Regions from separate parts of the Homo sapiens genome. Here all the other regions are linked to region 1. The links are contacts of gene promoters, found by promoter capture Hi-C in human tissues and cell types (Jung and others, 2019). All regions are on one chromosome and are shown on one strand. Each heading gives the region's core, a stretch centred on a gene start or on the middle of the fragment in contact. The rest is flanking DNA. Distances are from core to core; before and after follow the strand shown. Region 1 holds the start of UCHL1 (ubiquitin C-terminal hydrolase L1). Region 2 overlaps APBB2 (amyloid beta precursor protein binding family B member 2). Region 3 has its middle 14 kb from the start of LIMCH1. Region 4 overlaps LIMCH1 (LIM and calponin homology domains 1). Region 5 overlaps APBB2 (amyloid beta precursor protein binding family B member 2). Region 6 overlaps LIMCH1 (LIM and calponin homology domains 1). Region 7 overlaps LIMCH1 (LIM and calponin homology domains 1).

What was found. Contacts are between HindIII fragments. The study calls those that stand out against the background at their distance.
Region 2: a fragment that was not itself captured here is called in contact with the fragment with the promoter of UCHL1 in region 1 in 3 of the 25 tissues and cell types used here (IMR-90 fibroblasts, aorta and hippocampus).
Region 3: a fragment that was not itself captured here is called in contact with the fragment with the promoter of UCHL1 in region 1 in 2 of the 25 tissues and cell types used here (mesenchymal stem cells and mesendoderm cells).
Region 4: a fragment that was not itself captured here is called in contact with the fragment with the promoter of UCHL1 in region 1 in 4 of the 25 tissues and cell types used here (H1 embryonic stem cells, dorsolateral prefrontal cortex, hippocampus and 1 more).
Region 5: a contact is called between a fragment that was not itself captured here and the fragment with the promoter of UCHL1 in region 1, in 2 of the 25 tissues and cell types used here (dorsolateral prefrontal cortex and mesenchymal stem cells).
Region 6: a fragment that was not itself captured here is called in contact with the fragment with the promoter of UCHL1 in region 1 in 3 of the 25 tissues and cell types used here (aorta, dorsolateral prefrontal cortex and mesendoderm cells).
Region 7: a contact is called between a fragment that was not itself captured here and the fragment with the promoter of UCHL1 in region 1, in 1 of the 25 tissues and cell types used here (hippocampus).

Annotation. Positions count from the first base shown.
Region 1 is chr4:41,255,492-41,258,191 of GRCh38, reverse strand. UCHL1 (ubiquitin C-terminal hydrolase L1) reads right to left here and starts at 1,264. Exons shown (of 9, transcript NM_004181.5): 1 at 1,183-1,264; 2 at 1,066-1,077; 3 at 455-583. The coding sequence starts at 1,215. It overlaps UCHL1-DT (UCHL1 divergent transcript), which reads left to right and starts at 1,465. Exons shown (of 3, transcript NR_102709.1): 1 at 1,465-1,633. RefSeq lists an enhancer at 54-554 and a silencer at 389-1,148. The HindIII fragment of the contact is 4,741 bases long and covers 1-2,700 here.
Region 2 is chr4:40,842,520-40,845,219 of GRCh38, reverse strand. The region is part of intron 12 of APBB2 (amyloid beta precursor protein binding family B member 2); the gene reads left to right. Among named protein-coding and RNA genes, the nearest start is that of NSUN7, 94 kb to the right of the region's middle. The HindIII fragment of the contact is 6,536 bases long and covers 1-2,700 here.
Region 3 is chr4:41,522,868-41,525,567 of GRCh38, reverse strand. It overlaps a transcript of LIMCH1 not described here. Among named protein-coding and RNA genes, the nearest start is that of LIMCH1, 14 kb to the left of the region's middle. RefSeq lists an enhancer at 1-525. The HindIII fragment of the contact is 6,965 bases long and covers 1-2,700 here.
Region 4 is chr4:41,605,907-41,608,606 of GRCh38, reverse strand. It overlaps LIMCH1 (LIM and calponin homology domains 1), which reads right to left. Exons shown (of 32, transcript NM_001330672.2): 4 at 2,603-2,700. The coding sequence starts at 2,611. Among named protein-coding and RNA genes, the nearest start is that of LIMCH1, 69 kb to the right of the region's middle. The HindIII fragment of the contact is 3,635 bases long and covers 1-2,700 here.
Region 5 is chr4:40,869,555-40,872,254 of GRCh38, reverse strand. All of the region lies in intron 12 of APBB2 (amyloid beta precursor protein binding family B member 2), which reads left to right. Among named protein-coding and RNA genes, the nearest start is that of NSUN7, 120 kb to the right of the region's middle. The HindIII fragment of the contact is 6,921 bases long and covers 1-2,700 here.
Region 6 is chr4:41,542,877-41,545,576 of GRCh38, reverse strand. All of the region lies in intron 1 of LIMCH1 (LIM and calponin homology domains 1), which reads right to left. LOC105374423 (a long non-coding RNA gene) reads left to right here. Exons shown (of 4, transcript XR_001741667.2): 3 at 208-362; 4 at 1,841-2,123. Among named protein-coding and RNA genes, the nearest start is that of LIMCH1, 6.1 kb to the right of the region's middle. The HindIII fragment of the contact is 5,731 bases long and covers 1-2,700 here.
Region 7 is chr4:41,566,010-41,568,709 of GRCh38, reverse strand. All of the region lies in intron 1 of LIMCH1 (LIM and calponin homology domains 1), which reads right to left. LOC105374423 (a long non-coding RNA gene) reads left to right here. Exons shown (of 4, transcript XR_001741667.2): 1 at 1-2,700. Among named protein-coding and RNA genes, the nearest start is that of LIMCH1, 29 kb to the right of the region's middle. The HindIII fragment of the contact is 6,043 bases long and covers 1-2,700 here.

The DNA.
Region 1 (2,700 bases), core at 15-2,514:
ACCTAATTGTTTCCCTGCGATTTAGGTCAGCCCTTCCCCCTCCATTCTACAGCTAGGTGGGAGTCTGAGAAGCAAACAATGAGTTGACAGGTTATAGCCCTTAAAGGGAAACCAGCAGCCATTCCCCGGAACCGGAGGCTCGAAAAAGCCCAAGTTCGAGGGAACTCATGAGTAGGATGAATGATTTCCCTGGATAACGGGATAGATGGAACTGAGATACTGCCTCTCTTCCAAATTTAAGGCAATTGTGGACGGATGGGCAAGAAGGCGACAGGCACCGCTGGAACAGGAGCCCAGGGAGTAGGTACCACGAAAATGCAGGCTCCTCCCTTCCTTGTAGGCGCGCCCCGCATCACCTACAGGGGAGGGGGCGGGGCGGGGAGCCCCCGAGGACTCAAGCTGGGGAGCGGCGTGCACTGCCGGCGGCCGGCGCATCCTGGGCCCCACGCCCTACCTGGGCCGTGAGGGGAAACAGCAGCAGCAGCGCGCAGGCAGGCGCTGGCACCGAGCCCAGAGACTCCTCTTCCAGCCCCAGCACGTCCACGAAGCGCCACTGGCCGGCGACCCCCAGCCGGGACAGCACCTGCGGAGAGGAGACAAGGCGGCCAGGCGCACGGGGACACGCGGGTCGCGGGCACCTGCCAGGGGGCGGGGCCAGGAGGCGCGCGCCCTCCGCGCCCGCACCCGAGCCTGGGAGGAGCCCCAGTCCCGCCCTGCCACCCCCACCCGGGCCGGCGCAATGACACAGCACAAAGCGCGGCCCACACGTGGCGCCCGCGAAGCCCGTGCAGCCGAGTCTGTGCTGCCCGCGCCACGCCCTCGGGAGCTCCGCCTGGCGCTCGCTCGCCACGGGGCGCAGCCCCCTCCGTCTCCCCGTGACCGGTTTCGTAGAGTCACCCGCTAAATGCAGGGGCCCAGGAAAGGCGCCCAGCCCACGCCCCAGCCCGGCCGTCTCCGGTGCTCGCAGCGGGCGGCTTGGTCCCTGCCAGCAGCCGGAACCGGTGGGCGCCCCCGCCTCGGCGCTCGCGGGGGAGGGGGCCAGAGACGGCGCGAGACGCCACTCACTTTGTTCAGCATCTGAAAGGCAAATGCAAAGAAAAAGGCAAAACCGAACCGATCAGCGACTCGGCTCCCCCTCCCTCGGCCTCGCGCTCTCCGGGTAGCGGTGCACCTGGCGCTCACCTCGGGGTTGATCTCCATCGGCTTGAGCTGCATCTTCGCGGAGCGCCCGGCAGAAATAGCCTAGGGAAGACGAAAAACAGCTAGCGGAGCCGCCCAGGCTGCAGCTATAAAGCGCCGGCCAGACGCACTGTGAGGCCTGTGCAGGGGGAGCAGGGGCAGAACCAAGCGAGGGGGAAACGGACGGTCGCGGCCAGATGGGTACGAACCCCCCGTGCGCAGCGCGGAGTGGTACGGCCGGGCCCCCAAACCTTGCAGTCTCACTCGCCGGTGAGATAATCTGGTGGTTGTGGAGACGGGATTTGTTGGTGGGTGTTCCTTGAGTGTATGGAGCAGTCCTTTTGATGGAGTCTTTAATTTTGGGCGAAGTTTCTGGAAACCCATCCTTTCACCATCCCAATTACTCTAAAGCTCGAGTCTCTGAAGCATTTGAGAAAAAGCACAAATTCAACAGGTATATATTTAATACGAATGAATGTAAATGTGTGCCCCCCGCCCCAAATCTCTCAGCAGTTTGCGTTTAACCTTAGACAATTCCTCCTCCATGTTAAGTCAGACCAGTACCGAGGTTCGTTTTTAAGTGACTACCTAGAATAAAACAGAATCTGGTAGATAACAGATACTGCATTAGGAATGCTGATGTAATGTGACTCCCGCGGAAGAAATGGTTGGTCCTGGGAGAGCAGTAGAAAGCTGGGGGATGTGAGGGTAATACAAGACACAAAGAAGGCAGGCGATTGGAGACTTGAGAAAACAGATCCAGGGAAAAGATGGGTATGATTTTGAGCGAGAGGCTGTAAAAGGAAAAGCATTTTTAAAAGAATGGGAAGCTTTGAAAAATAAAATGTCTGAGTTCACCGCAGAATACTCCCAATGAAGAAGAAAGGGAATGGCAACCAAGGAAACCACTGTTCTCTAATGATCTCAGGTGATCTCTAATGATCTCTAGTCAAAAGATGGAGAGAGAAAGCATTTGCTGAAGAATGAATTTTAAAAGGGACCAAAATCTATAAGAATTGTGCCAGGAAAGCTAAGCTGCAGAACAAAGTGGGCTTGCAGAAATACTTAGGTAGCGAAGGAAGCAAGAAGGTTGAGTATTTTTTAAAAATAGGCACCGAAGAGAATAATGATGATGGTAAAAGAATAGACCTTCTATTTAGGAAGTTGAGGTTAACAGATGACAGAGGGAAGGGAGGGAATCAACATTTTTTGAGTTATTGTTTTTGGGGATCCTTTGCATGTGTCTCTCATTTAATCCTTAGAGGAGCCGTGAAGAGACTCATATTAGTGCAATTTTACAGATCAGAATCCCAGGCCTAGAGAAGTTAATTTGCTTACGGTCACAATTGAAAAGTAAAACTGAGAAGTAAACCCTGCTAAACTGGGCTCCAAGAGCCCATTCTTTATCTAAGATTCCACAACATTCTACTTCTATTTTCTTTCCATTTTTGCCATTAGAAAATGACCTTCACACACAAAAATGAGAGAGAAAAAAATTAGTAAGAGGAGCTTAATGGGTGA
Region 2 (2,700 bases), core at 110-2,609, 410 kb after region 1:
TCTGGGTTTCTGAATGACATTTCAAATATCACTCTGCGGTGTCTTATTTATGGCTGGTTTTCACTTTGATACTTAAATCAAGCAGTGTTTATTAACTCCAAATGAATTAACTGTGTTAAAAGTTTGCAGTAGCATTTTTTCCAAGTCTGCTTTCAGGGAAAAACACAGTAGCTACATCTTGATGGTATGTTTTTAAGTGAATCACTAGCAGTGGATCTGATTTAAAATATCCAAGACTACAATAATAATTATACACAAAAGAAACAGGTTGTATTCTCAGATTGTTAGATTTTTAAAGTTTTTGTCACACACTACAGATAGGCTTTTTATTAAAAATAAGAAATTGAAAACATTTGGTGTAATTAAAAGCAAGTCAAAGCACTAACATATCCTTTTCTGATAAAAATCTGAGCACTAAGAAGTTCCTAGCACATCCATTCTGAGATTAGGAACCCAAGAATTAGGGAGGTTGTGTGACTTGCATAATGTTACCCAGCTGTGGATTCAGACTGGGACCAGCATCCAGGTCTCTGGGTCCTTTGCTGATCTTGTAAATTGCTACCCAAGCCTGGCTTTGATAGGTGGAACCGAGTAGCACAGAGGGACCTGAGCCAAGGGGTGACTCTCCAGCATCCTGTATCAGCTGGGGTCCAGCAAACCTGAGCAGAGGGCCCCTGCCACTCCCCCAGGTGACTGTCCTTCCGTGGGAGACAGTCCATCTCAAATGCTGCCCAGCACAACCCAGCCGAAGAGATGAAGCTATTGGATGACACAGTGATAATAGCTGTTAACGTTGCAGGTTATTGCAGCTTTGTTACATGCCCAGCACTCCCATACACGTGTCGTCCCATTTAACTTCATGCTTATAATGCCCCTGAGCATTATGAGCATGAGCAGGTGTCCTTATCCCCTCTTCAATGATGAGGAAACAGGTTTTGTGGGGCATACCATGTAACACAGTGTGCCTGGCACACAGAGGGGCCCTGGAAATCTATGTTGGGTAAATAAAGAGAAGGTAAGCAGTGTACTTGAAGGAATGTGGCTACCCATCTGGATTTGAGCACAGCTGTGTCTGCCTCTTCAGCCCAAAGATCCTCTTAGGAATTTTTAGCCACCTCTTTCCCTACAAAAGTTCACCAAAAGAGAGGAATGTTCCCTGTTCCTCTAAAACCCTAGGTTCTTGGCCAAACCCTTTGGCCCTACCTTGAATACCTGTGCCTAGGGACTGTGTTTGCCATTTAGGAGACAAACCATTAGGGGGCTCTGCAGGACTGTGTAGAAGGGTGGAGTACCCATCATGGGTGCATCTAAGACTAGAATTCGAGTCCTGCAGCCTACTGTCAAACTCTCTTCCCCATGTAGTAGCTGTGTGACCTTGGCCAAGTGTCTTAGCCTCTCTGAACTTGTTTCCTCATCTGTCAGAACAGTAATACTGACCTTGTCCAGTTACTGTTAGGGGCCAAACAGAGCTCAATAAAGGGTAATTGGTGGCTGGTGTTACTGTAATCATTAATATTAGTCCTGTTAACTGCCCTGGGGCATGCTGATCACAATGGCTTTCCTTCAGTACTGAGGTAGATATTTGCATATTTTATCACAAAAGTCAAATGTGCTTATTGTATAATTTTCAAAGAGATAAAGTAAAATCCTCCATAATCCTCTTTCCATATTACAGTTGACAGTTCGGGTATTATATTCCAAGTTTTTTACTGTGTATATATTAAAATACACATGCAAACATTTTGTTGTTTTTATAAGACCATGCTTGTTTTATAAAAACAGCTTGGCTTTGTTTTTGCTCCACTTACTAGTGTGCCATGGTCATTGTTCCGCCTCAGGGTGAGCAGCTCTTCCTTTCCACTTAATGACTTTGTGGTTCACTGTCTGGTGCACTTGGCGTTTCATGCCATGATTTTAGCTCCATCCCTGCAGGGCCCTGCTGGCCGCTCCATGACCCTGGCCATAGAGTGCCCGAGAGAACGGGTTTCTGTAAACATTGGGTTTCTTCCTTTCCTCCTCGTTATCTATCCAGTGCTCCATGCTCTTCGGTCTAGTTGCTCTGTGTACGGTGCATGCAAATCGGCTGTGACAATGCCAGAAAGGAATGGTGTGAGCACCATGGGTCAGGGGATTAAGTGACTTCATTAGGGTCCCAGGCAGCTCAGGACAGCTCTGGGTAGCTCAGGGAGGGAACTCCAAGAGTGTGGCCCCAACCAGACTTGCACTGTGTTCCTCTCTCCGTTCCATTCCTCTCTTTCCTGGGACGTCTCTGATCTCTCCCCCATTGAGCTGTCATCTCCTGTCTCTCCCACTTCCCACCCGCCCTTGACCTGTGCTGCCTCCCTCCCTCCCTGTTGCCCTGTAAGGATGCATCTCAGGAAAAGTGCCTGGATTCCAGTGATGTGGCTCTGTTAATAGAGTGTCAGGAATGTCGGTAAAACAGGTAAGGCTATGTCCATGCCGTTGTTTCTGTATGTTTTTTATTGGGAGCAGGTGGAACTGGAAAATGAAGACACGTCCTCTGCCAGTGTTTACTGCAAACAGTTTCCTGTATTTGACTGTGATATTTTAAGCTTGATTACCTCCCCCAGTTGATATGTTGCCTCTGTAAATTCAGCTGGCATCTCTTGGCTTCATCATAATGTGGCTCAAAATACACACTTCTGGGTGATACAGTTGACCTAAAATAAGCACGGAAAG
Region 3 (2,700 bases), core at 64-2,563, 270 kb before region 1:
GCATCCACAGAAATAGCAGTTCTTAAAGAAAACATCTATTTCATTCAACTTGCTGAAACCATGTACCTTCCCACAAGGACCCCCCACAATTCTCAAACACAATTGGTTTTTTGTCACATCTAATTTCAATTAGTCATCGTGATATGGCTAAGAAGCTTTTTAACAACAATCAGTAAGGTCTACGTAGGATCCTGCTTAAATTCTTGACATTCTTCTCATTGCTTTCTGCAAAACTACATGCGCAGAAGGCGATCACAATGGAAACAATCAGTGAGTCATTACCGAGCTACATACTTCCTCTGCTCTGTGTGTGTGTGTGCGCGCGCGTGTGCACGCACACACACATATGCCAATTCCTTCCAAAACTAAGATTTGATTGTCTTCCTCATCTTCTACTTCTTTCCTTTTTCTACACAAAGGCAACATCGATGAAGCAATTAAAAAATTAGTTGCCAAGAATTATAAGACATATCAACGCATGAAAAAAATATTCTGCTTCTAACCACATATGAACATGTAAGTTTTAGATTTTATGTGGATAGGTTCAGAAGGGCAAGGATTCTGCTTAAACAGTTCTCCAGATGACGTTAGACCACCTTAGTGCCCCAGTATGTCTTCAGGATAGTTGGCCTACAATTGTGGTATTTCAACCCAAGTAGATTATAATATTGAAAGCAGCAATTTATTATAAAACGACTGTTTTCTCTTAAAATTCTCTTTCTCTCTACCTCCCCTACCCTCCATTCTAGGGGAATGCAGTGATGAACTGAAATGAGAAAACGTAATTAAAATCACATTCCTCCCCCAAGGGTCAACCTAATTATCAGCCTCTCACACCAAAACAAATTTAGCTCTTTGAGAATGAAGGTCCTTATCACTCATGGAAAAAACACAAACAAAGATTAACATGCCATTTAGGCATGACTGCAATCTTTCATTTTAAGTGACCTCTTCGTTTAATGGATTCAATGCGTTCTCATTCAAGTGGAATATATATTGCAGGAGAGAACTGTAATAAATGGTGCTGTCATGACCCCTAGGTTAGAGCAAAGGAATATTGGAAAATAAATCTCAATTCCACGTACTCACCAGTCCTGCAATGGGGGTAGGCAATCTATTGATCTTTTTAACAAGTCCTGGCTTTATAGCATTCAGCAACCTGTCATGAAAAAGGCAGAATGTCAAGTGAGACATAAAGCAAGATGGATCACACAAATCACCTTTATCCGGGGCTACAGCTAAATTGCTGGATAGGAAAAGCAGTGAATTTAAAGCATATAGTAAATCTCAATAATCTATCAGCCTTCATGCATATAAGTGAAGAGCTTTGCCAACATCAAGTTGGTCCACGGCAGGTGAAGTTTTAGAATTTAGAAATGTTGAGAGATGAGAAAAGGTAGAGACTGAGGAGGGCTTCAAGGAAAAGGACAAGGGGGAGAGCTGGATTGAGGTTGTGAGGGAATTATCTGGAACTGGAACCAGGTATTACAACTCAGGTAAGGCTTGTTGCCAATTTTCCTGGCTAAGACATGGATCTCTCCAGGGATGCACTAAATTCAAAGACCAGTTTCTATCTTTACAAATGATTCGCCAAGACACATTCTAAGTCAGACCCTACTTGCTCTTTGAGAAGAGTGGCTTTTTCAATGTGGTTGAGTTTCACTTTAAAAAGGGAAGAATGTGTTTAATAAGAGGTTAGCCAATCATATTCTGAAGATTTTAAACAAGGCTAACCAAGAGTCCCTAGGTACAAAAGATATTTGAGCAAAAGATTTTCAGCTAAAGATTGAAATTATATAACAATGGTTACACAAGCAAGGGAATGCAAGAGAAACAACTATCATTGCCTGTTTTCAGGACATAAAAACCCAGAGTGAAGAGAAACAAGGAAAGCAACTTATAAAATTAAAATATGGTTAGCATCGGGGTAATTGGGTAAAGTGTAGTATTTGCAAAGTAGGTTATTCATAAATAAGTGATTGAAGGTAAGGGGCTGTAGAATGTAGAATGTTATTTCCACGTTCGGGAATCAGGCAATTAGGTAACTTAGAATACTGTGCAAAGAGAAACTTAGGGTAGGAGTGTATCATAATTGAGAGGTCAACAAACTACAATCCATGAGCCAAATCTGGTCCAACACCTGTACTTATAAATAAAGTCTTACTGGAACAGGAATATAACCATCCTCATTCATTTACATATTGTCTATGGCTACTTTTGTGCTACAACTGCAGAGTTGAGTAGTTACAATGGAGACCTGAGGGGCCACAAAGCATAAAATCTTTACTATTTGATGCTTTATGGAAAAAGTTTGCTGACCTCTGTTAAAATTCATGCAATCCAAGGTTATAACAAATTATAAAGAACCTGTGCTTGCCAGATTTCTACAGATCAGTAACAAAAATTTTTCAAATGGTTTAATAGTCTTGAATTTAGACTATCTTTGACTTTGATACCACCATATATTCATATGTTGAGAAATGTCCCTACAGTGATTGTGACAGACAGGATATTCCATTTTTGCATGCAAGATTAATTGGCTGTTCTCGGTAATTTTCACTGCAATTCCAACATGCTGCTACCAAGAGGCGGTACTCAGAGTGCACAAGTGCTGTTTTGCCCACGGAGAGCCAAGCTGGCTGCTCTTTTCATGAATGCACTTATTTTTTAACCATAAATTTAACCTTTTAAAAATGCTTC
Region 4 (2,700 bases), core at 182-2,681, 350 kb before region 1:
GTCACCTTTACTATAGAACTTAACAAGTTGCACCCTAGTGAATCATTTTTATGCACATTTCACCCACTAGAAAAATGAATATAAAAATTTGTGGATAATCTCCTTTGTGAAAGAAAAAAAACTAATTTCAAATTTATTTCAGCCTGCATATGTGCAGAAGAGATTACAGTTGTCCCTCAATATCTGCTCTCCTAACAAAAATGCCTACAGTTTTTAGCTGAAATAAAGTCTACTTTCCCCAAGTCTTTGCTTGCAGCTAGATATGGATGCATGACCAAGTTCAAGTCTGTAAGATGTAGCTATGTGTGTAGTGTGTAATTTCCCAGAGGTGTGTTTAAAGGGAGAGCATGGAATCTTCTCCCCGCCATTCCTCCCTTTTCTTGGCTGAATGTGGACATGATGGCTAAAGCCTGAACAGCCATCTTGGATCAGCAGGTGAACAGCCATGGGTTGAGGTTGTTGGTACAAAAAGACAAAGAAGCTTGGGCCTTCTGTTGGTGAAAAGACATGGAACCCCACATCAGCCCTGGACTGCTCATGTCCACGTCTCATTTATGTGAATTAGAAATAAAATTGTTGTCTTATTTTATCTGTTATTTTGAGGCTTTTGTGTTTCCCAGCTGAACCCGATCCTAACTGACAAAATGAGATTATATATATCACATATAAAACTAGTATTTCCAGGTGCTCAGATAGTCCAGTGAAGTTCAAGTCATTTTCTCTCTAGATGGAGATATGGCAGTATCATGGCTGGCCATTTTTGCTAAGAGTCATGTATCCAGGGATACTACTTACTCCACCATGTCCTGTGATGTTACCTACATTCAACAAAAAGGGTAACAGCTGTTAACAACAGGTCATTTTACAGCAGTTGAAGAAACTAACTGTAGAAAGAGAAGCTAGGAGAGTTGAAGAAACCAATAGCTGCTCAGATTCTACAGGAGCTGGACTAGTAGTAAGAAATGTCAATCATGAGAATAAATCAGATTCCAACAGAATCTAGCAGGGGAACTGTGAGACAAAGCTTCATGACCCATCTATTATTATTCAAGTCCAAATTTAATATAAAAACAATAAACATTTAGACATCTCAAATCCAGACTGGATGTTAGATGAGAAATTAAAGGGCAAATAAGAGGTGAGACTGAGAAGCAATGAGTTGTGCTTCATTGTGTGTCTGTGTTTATTTAATTTTTAAAGGAATTCAGCTTAAAGTACCTTGTGTATGTGCGTTATGACCAATATGAAAGCTTTGGCCATTTATAAATACATGAGCCAGACTGGCCTTAGCCAAATGTGAAGAACTATCAGGACCATTAGCTTTAATTTAAGGAAAGGAAAATAAATGTTTAGAAAATTGGAACCAATTCTTGCTTTCAGTATTAAAAGAAAAATTGCAAGGAACTGAATGTTTCTAGTTCATTTATTTTGCATACTAGAGAAATGAGGAAGAGTAAGGCCTCAATTATTTGTCCTCTAATGTGGACTTTATCCAAAATGCCTGGAGGGGCCGGGTGCGGTGGCTCACACTTGCAATCTCAGCACTTTGGGAGGCCAAGGTGGGTGGATCACCTGAGGTCAGGAGTTCAAGACCAGCCTGGCCAACACGGTGAAACCCTGTCTCCACTAAAAATACAAAAATTAGCCAGGCTTAGTGGTGGCTGCCTATAATCCCAGCTACTCGGGAGACTGAGGCAGGAGAATCACTTGAATCTGGGAGGCGGACGTTGCAGTCAGCTGAGATTGCGCCACTGCACTCCAGCCTGGGCGACACAGCAAGAATCCATCTCAAAAAAATAAAATAATTAAAAAAGTACATGGAGGTCCATTATAAATAAGCCTTACCTGTACACTAAGGCGGGTTGGGAGGGCCTCTCCTGGGTAACACTATGTACTAGCCATTTGTATGAGTTGTATATTGCTGGACCTTCAGATGAAACATTCAGGCAAGTAGTACACATGAAACATTCAACTGTTTCCTTGACAAATCCCTACCTTAGGTCAGTCTTTTCTATACTCAAAGAAACAAATGAAGCTTTTAACAATGTATGAAATGTTTTCCAAATTCCTATGTCATTCAAAAACAGTGGCTATAACATGCACATGTTAGAGGAGAATGCATTTAATGTATCCCGCCTTGTCCAGAGCGTATGCCAAGGTAAGAGCTTGGTTCACGTTACCTCACCCACATCAAGGCCCCAGTGGGTAAGCAAAATGCCCTTTAGCACAAAAGTGCAGAGCGAGTCTTCATTTTTGCATAATACTGCATTGTTTAATTCAAGCATTATTCCCCCAAGAAAACAAGCACTGAGCATCTTGGCATACAAAGGCATATACTGATAGATTGAATTTGCTTTTTTGGAATTAAAAAGTTGGATGGAGCTCAGAACTCCTGTTCTCTGAAGGGTATGAAAGTGCAGGTAGGTGTGACATGCATGAGGCAAAGATGTCATTGGTAAGACAAGTGATCGTTTCCTTGAGTGCATATCTTTGGCTCATACCATTCCACAACCCAGTACTCTAGTAATCTTAAAAACAAGCAAATGTGTAGCTTTCCCACCTTGTCTAACGCTTATGGGATAAAGAAGAAAAGCCAAGTTACCTTTCGCATCTGAGCCAACAATCCTTCAAACTCCTTCAGGTTTAGTGTCGTTCCGCTGTAGGATGTGCAGCTGTTTGCTGCTTTTCCCAGCCAGTAAA
Region 5 (2,700 bases), core at 63-2,562, 390 kb after region 1:
GGGTTGGCTGAAGACACGGCTTCCTTTGTCATTGTCCTCATTCTCTGTCTAAAGCTGATGATAAAGTCACAATCTAGACTACAATATTGGCAACAATGGTGGCAGAAGGAAAAGATGCGCTGACTGAACATTTCTGCTGGAAATGATGCTTAGCGCTTTTGCTCACATTTCATTGGCAAAGCAAGATGCGTAACTGCGCCTCACTTCAAGGGTTGGGGAAATATACGCCACCCCTACAAATGGGAGTGAATCTTCACAGCACACCATGCCCTGTGCTGTCTTTCAGCTCTGTAGTCATGCATATATTCATTGTACTAGATCTCTTCAACCTCGGGTTGTCACTAATGTCACAGATGTGTGTCTCCCTGGTTAGACTGTGAATTCCTTGACAGCCATCACCATATCTTAGATTTCCTTGTGTGTGCTTCAACATGATGTTATCCTTATATTAGATGCTTAAAAGTACTTTTGATTATCTGAAGGGGAGAATGAGGGGAGAATAATCAGAACTCTGTGCATGTTTTGACACAATGCTTTATGGTTTACTGAGGGTCTATCTCCATTAGTCCTTTCAGGACTACAGGGTGTAGCATTATGTCCCTTTTACAGATGAGGAAACTGAGACCTAGAACTTTTACACGACTTAATCAGTTTTATACAAAAATGTGGCTGAACCGTGTCTGAAACCATGAATTCTAAATTAATGGGTCAGTGTTCCTACTCCTTTTAGCTGTTAATATGGACACTCCAATTACCTTGTGCAGAGGCCCACATGAGGGAAGGAAGAGGAAACTTCAGAAAAGGAGTTGAGGCCGGGTGCGGTGGCTCATGCCTGTAATCCCAGCACTTTGGGAGGCCAAGGCGGGCGGATCACTTGAGGCCAGGAGTTCGAGACCAGCCTGGCCAACGTGGCAAAACCCCGTCTCTACTAAGAATACAAAAACTAACTGGGGATGATGGCTCTTGCCTGTAGTCCCAGCTACTCAGGAGTCTGAGGCGGGAGGATCGCCACTTGAACCCAGGAGGTGGAGGTTGCAGTGAGCCAAGACTGCAACATTGCCCTCTAGCCTGGGCAACAGAGTGAGACTCTGTCTCAAAAAAAATAAACGGGTGCGGGGTAGTAGGGTCTTCACAGATGTGATTAAGTTAAGGATTTTGACCTGAGGATATTATCCTGGATTACCTGAGTGGGACCTAAATCCAGTCATAAGTGTCCTTCTGAGAGACACTTACACATATATATATATGTATGGCTGGGCGCGGTGGTGGCTCACCCCTGTAATCCCGGCACTTTGGGAGGCCAAGGCGGGTAGATCCCCAGAGGTGGGGAGTTCATCTCTGCTAAATATACAAAATTAGCTGGGTGTGGTGTCATGCACCTGTTATCCCAGCTACTCGGGAGGCTGAGGCAGGAGAATCGCTTGAACCTGGGAGGCGGAGTTTGCAGTGAGCCGGGATCGTGCCACTGCACTCCAGCATGGGTGAGAGTGAGACTTGGTCTCCAAAAAAAAAAAAAAAAAGAGTGTGTATACACACACACACACATATATGTATATAATACCTATAAGGTAACATTTGCAGGTTCCAGGGATTAGGACCTGATTTCTTTGGGATATTTTTCAGCCTTCTACAGTTAGGGCAGTGGAAGCCCCTTCTGCTACCCAGCTTTGCTCCTCCATCTTCCTCACCCAGCTGTCTCTCCTCTAGGTGGTACAGATTATATGACTTCTTAAATGAAAGGGCTTTTGGAGTGAGGCACACCGGTTGGCTTCCTGATCTGCCTCTGTTAGCTGGCTGACCCTGAGCCAGTTACACACTGTGCCCCAGGGCCCTCTTGTGTAGAGATGGAAGCTTTGGAACCCCGATGCAGCTTGGTTGTAAGATATTAAATGGGAGAGGGCTTGGCACGGGTCCCTGTCCCCTGGTGAGCACTCAGAAGAGAATGTTGTCCCTCCCTCTGCGCTGCCCCTCACTCTGCCCTCCCTCATCTGCACTGGCAGTGGTGGGCACAGTGGGCTGGAGGCAGAGGAGGCTGCTTGTTGAGATTCCTGGAGCATTTCCTCCCATTTATTTTTCTTAGTGAAGTCAAAAACAGACAAATGTTTATTAAATAATGAATCATTCTTTCCTAGAAGGATTATTTCATTTCATGGGTGAGCGGTTTATTGCCAGAGAATGATGTCTTCCCCCAAAATGATGTATAACGTGATTTGGTACCTAAGTTTTTAGACACTTGAATGTTTTTTCTCTCTTCCATTTAAACTTGAAGGTTGTGAAATGTAGTCCATATTCATTCATACTCTGTTCATTTCAGGAGATACCCACAAGCAGAATGGGGTGACTGGGGCCTGCTTTGACCTCATATTTTCCTATTTCTACAGGAATATATAGAATATTTACTAAATACTAGGTATTTAGTAATAAATACCACAAGCCTTCCTAGGTAATAAGCCTGTTAAGAAAAGTAAGCAATTATATAATTGGCAAAGAAATTAATACAAAGATCTAAACCAAGAAATATCAAAGTCTTTTATTCTTAGAATTTTTTTCATTTCACGTATATTCCTTGTCTGCCTTCAGAATCTAAAATTCTGGCCCACTTTGTTTATAGAGCGGTCCCTTTAGACATTTGCCTTATTTTTAGGCCTCTTTTATTTTTTTTCTTTGGAGACAGGGTCTCACCCCTTCACCCAGGCTGGA
Region 6 (2,700 bases), core at 67-2,566, 290 kb before region 1:
AAAAGTCGTTGTCGAGGTCAACATTAAGTTTAGAGCCAGATAATAGGGTAACTGCTTGATCACCCTTGCTGTGATTTTCTAGCAAAGCTCTTTGTTTTCCATTCCTGATGATCACTGCCCTTCACTTTCCACAGTAACTCTCCCCTCGTACTGACGAACAGGAAAAAAACACTCAAGTCCTTTCTTACATAATGTGTTTTTTTGCAGGAGATCCAGAACTCAAAGATCCTTGATGCTTTTTATCAATTCCACTAAACGTCAAGGACAGGAAATAAAAACATTTTTCTCTTCCGACTCAAACACAATACCCCTTTGTGAAGCTGCTAAAAATCTAGAAATGGCAAATCTGGGAAAATTTTCAGGTGAGCGATAGGCATCAAAATATTTCATTTTTGCTAAAAATATCTCTTAAGTTTTTCTTAGCATTCCAACTCACATCACACTGAATTTGAGTACAAAGAACAGAATCTGTTTTACCCTTGTATTGGCAGTGACTTTGAGGTTATACAAAGGAGTCAAAGTAGCCTGTCCTATGACACTGAAGTCCCTGTAGGCATTTGCCAGTTCAGAGCAGTTCCTTTCAGAATGGAAACAGGAAAGATGGAAAAGGGAAGAGAGATCAATGCAAAATTCTGTATCTTCATTACTTGGCAACTGGAGTTTCAATCAAGGACCCAAGAGGTAACTTAGGCAAGTTGGGGAGTCCCTGAAAGCTAAACCCATGACAGTGAATCTTGTGTAGTCCTCAGCAGCTGCCCCAGCACAGATAAATGAGGCTTTCTAGGAAGCATAAGCATCCTAATGGCAGTAAGGCTGATCCAGTGTCCAGAGGGAAACGTGGTGGCAACAGAAGACACGTGTGGTCTGGGGTAGGCTTTGATGTTGCAGCTCCACAGCAACAGAGACACATGAGAAGAGATCAAAATAGAAGAACCACCCAGCCTTGCTTGGAGAGGAGGTGGAATGGAATGGAATAACTAGGTAACTAGGTAATAGAAAACCAGGTAACTAGGTAATGGAATAATTAGGGAACCACTGGGCACCTGGAGGCTTCTGGGCTCTTCTCTACTCTGCAGGCTTCTCTCTGACACATTAGAGGCCTCCCAGACTCAACTGCTCCCCTCGACAGGAGCAGAAAATAGACGACAGCTACATTTTCTTCAAGTCTTGCCAAGAAAAACCTTGCAGGGTTAAGAACACAAAAGCCTTCAAATATCTTGCTACTGAGGTTCTTTCTTATAAGTTTCAGTGTATACCCACACACAGAGAGTGAAGAAAATTCACTTTGATTCAAAGGGTTCAAGAATGTTCACAGTCTTTCGAGGAGTCACTATGTTTTTAAACTCTTTCAACAGCTCTATTTGTTCTCAAAAGAGTCATAGATTTATTTAATAGCAGTTTATCTTTCAGTTGGCCCATTACAAGCCGGAGCATAACACGTAAAGCATCCAGCATAATCACAGGTTTGGAATTGAGAAGGCTTGGTGGGGGTGGGGGGGTATCTGAAATATAAAGACAATATAAAGGCAAAGAGTTTGTCATGTTATTTGCTGCAGGGAAGCATGTCCATAGGTGAAAAAGTTGAATTTCACATAAAAATATAGAAGTAAACATCTGGAGAAGAAAGACTTTCATGGCAGGTTTGTGAATACGCCCCTAAAAATCCATCGCCCATTTTAAAGAAACAACTAGGGTCTGTGGAGCAACAGGGTGAAACAATCGTTCACTTAAGATACAGTAACATCTTTCTACCAAGTGATAAAAACCTATCACAAAATAAATACACACCACATGTGCTCCATAAAAGTATAACACAGAGGCGCCTTTGTTTTTTTAACAGAAACCTGGCCAAGATGTGAAGACCCAGACTGTGGCGCTATGTTTGGGACTCAGAGGTCTGACACGGGAGCTGAGACTCAGACCAAAGAATTAAGATAGTAACAACATGTTGTCAATTAATCATGCTCATAAGGTGGTCAAAATGACCATGAGGACACATTTCAGTCTACCGGACAGTATGCCAGCTTTCATTCTTGTGCTCAAAGACAAAGAAGAAAGCTTTAATTTGGTGCAATATGGGCCGAAAGTTTAGTTGTCATATATATTAAACTCAGCCTACAGTCTTACTTGAGTAAATTTCATGAAAAATCCAATTTTCTTAAATGTAAGTTATGTTAGGGAAAAAACACTATCTCCACAGGAGCTCAGAGATGTCCCTAACAATACACTCAAACATATTTCATGTATTTTATGTTTTTATGTTTAAACTTATAAATGTAAATTAATATATTTCTATTAAAATTCATAAAATATATATGTACATTTATAATATAAATTAAATACCTTCAGCTGAGTTAGACATTCTGTGCCTTGAAGGACACCAGTTATTTTAGGAACAAATACTCTTTATTGAGGAAGAAAGTGCTGGATCCACCAATGGAATGAACACCCACATCTCTTAGACATAGTTCCATGCGTTACCTTCTTCCCCACAAACCGCATGTTTGTGCAATTAGCTTTCATCAAATCAACATATTAGTCACCAAAAAACATGCTGATGAAAACAAAGACAGGCTAGTTGCTTATTTCTTGAAAGTGAACAGTTCCTTTGGCCATTATATAAGATAATCAGTTTTGCCAGCATCGAAACAGATAATGCTTTAAAAATAATGTGAGGACAATGTTACAATTTTTTCAGTT
Region 7 (2,700 bases), core at 27-2,526, 310 kb before region 1:
AGCCTCGCCTTATTTTATGACAAAGGAGACAATTTACATTTGAGTATATCCTCCAATATCCACAGACATTTCATCAACATTTTGGCCTATTTTAGCAGCATCATATTTTTCTCATTCAGTCTTTCTGAAGGATAGCCAGAAGAAATCATCCATTTTAGAGTATTTTTCTCGCATTAGTTTTTGAAGAAATCTAGATCCAAAAATAAGTAGAACATTATGTCACCACTGTTTTCAATACATATACTCTGTGTGCATGTGGATCAAACCCATGACACACCATTGCAAGGGAATGCAACAGTTCTTGTGTTGTAACTCCGGTGCATCAGGTCAGCTGTCACGTTGGCTCTCCTGAAGCTGGACCTTGATAACTTTTTGTTTTAAAATTATTTTCAGATTACACAATTTATTGTAAAGTGATAGGAAAGCTTTCTTAGTGATGAGTCTGTAATTTCACTATCAATTATGGTTGTAAATACTGGATCCTATTGACCATTTATTCCTCAAATGCCATTTTACTGCCCATTTAAGTAACCGTCATAGCTGCTTTTTTCTTTTTTGAGAAGGAGTCTCGCTCTGTCGCCTAGGCTGAAGTGCAGTGGTGCAATCTCGGCTCACTACAACATCTGTCTCCTGGGTTCAAGAGATTCTCCTGCCTCAGGCTCCTAAATAGCTGGGATTACAGGTGGGTTTCACCATGCCTGGCTAATTTTTGTATTTTTAGTAGAGCCGGGGTTTCACTATGTGGGCCAAGCTGGTCTCGAACTCCTGACCTCGTGGTCCGCCTGTCTTGGCATCCCAGAGTGCTGGGATTACAGGCATGAGCCACCACGCCCGGCCTATAGCTGCCAATTTTAAGGACATTACCTGGGAGGTGAAATGAACTTATCATCTTTTCTGATGCCACTTAAGCACAAGATTTCTAAAAAAAGAGCTATTTATTACTACCAAACAAGTGTAGCAATACTTCCAAAGATAAACACAAAAAGACCTGGATTCTAATCATGCCTTTCTGTGCACTTATTGGTAATACTGGGCAAACTACATAATCTGTCTAAGCCCCAGGTTCCTCATCTATAAAATGCAGTAACACTTACCTACCAGGTTTTCCTAGGGAATAAAGGAGATAATTCAAGTATAGCACCTAACTCAGTACCTAACCCTAAGTAGGTAGTTAAAAGTATGGGCTCTGGAATTTAATTCTGCCTCAGTCATATATTACTACTATTGCTGCTACTATTGACCTTGTCATGATTATTTTTGCATAAATACTTTACTTATTTGGCTGAGAGCAAGTCAAAAGTTAAAAAAAGTTTTGCTGACGTGCTTATAAAGCCAACAAAAACACTTACTGAATATCTCAAACATGCCAGGCATTGTTCTGAGGGCTTTAAATGTATTATCTCATTAATCTTAAAAACACTTTCATTTTAATATTATCCCATGTACAGCATAATATATGAGGAAACCAAGGCACAGAGAGGTAGAGTAACTTCAGCATGTATGCACAGCAAGTGACGAGACAGGGTTCAAATCCAAGCAGGTCCCCCCCTTAACCTCAGCATCCTTTATTCTGCCTTCTTATGCAGACCCATCAGTTTTGTACTGTGCTATGACACACCACTGGGCAGAGCCCTTGCTAGTTCTCAGAACTTGGTGAAAGGAAGAACAGCTTTAAGAATAGAGGAGTTTGAGCAGGTAGGTTTTGCAAGTATTCTGATGGGCACTTATAAGAGCACTGCTGATTGGGATCAAAGAATTATAGGATTGACAATGATTCAGTCCTCATGATGAAGCTGCCCAGTCTAGGCTTGAAAGACTTCAGTAACAAGGAAGTGGTCAATTTCTGATGCATTTCAGCCCATCTTCGGATAACTCTGTATGTGATAGAAAACTCTTCTTTTTTTAAGTTTATTCCCAGCTTTAATGGGGTATAATTAACAAATAAAAATTGTATAAAGTGTATGATGAGATGTTTATCAAAACATCACATTCTACATTTTAAATTTATACAATTTTTGTATAATGATTTTGTGTAGAATGATTAGCATATCACTTCACATAGTTATCATAGAAAACTCATTCTTACATTGTATCAACATGTTGATGCTCCTAGTGACTTCTCCTCATTGGTTCTAAGTATACTTCCAGGAAACTGCCTACATCATGCTGAGGCTCTCTTTCACCCAACTGTCCTTCAGTATTCTGATATTTCATCATGTCTCCCCCAGGCCTATCTCTTCCCCACATTCAAAGCCTTTCCCACATTCAAAACCTCACTCAAAGCTCTGCAGCCCATGGATCAAGGAGTAATTTCAATTTTCAAGTCCTATTATCTAAGAAATATATTTGTAAGGCTATAGCTGCCATAGATAGTGATTCCTCTGATGGATCTGGGCAAAGCAAATTGAAGACCTTCTGGAAAGGATTCATCATGCTAGATGCCATTAAGACCATTTGTGATTCTTGGGGGAGGCTCAAAATATCAACATTAACAAGAGTCTGGAATAAGTTGATTCCAGTCCTCATAGATGATGTGGAGGGGCTCAATGTGACATGACCACCCATATGGCCTGACTCCTACCTTAGTGTCTTCACCACTAGGGATGCCTACTTTAGTGGTTAAGAGTTCAGGGATGAATGAGACAGACTTTGGTTTGAACTCTGGCTCTGTCTTACTAATTTTGTGATCGTGGACAAGTT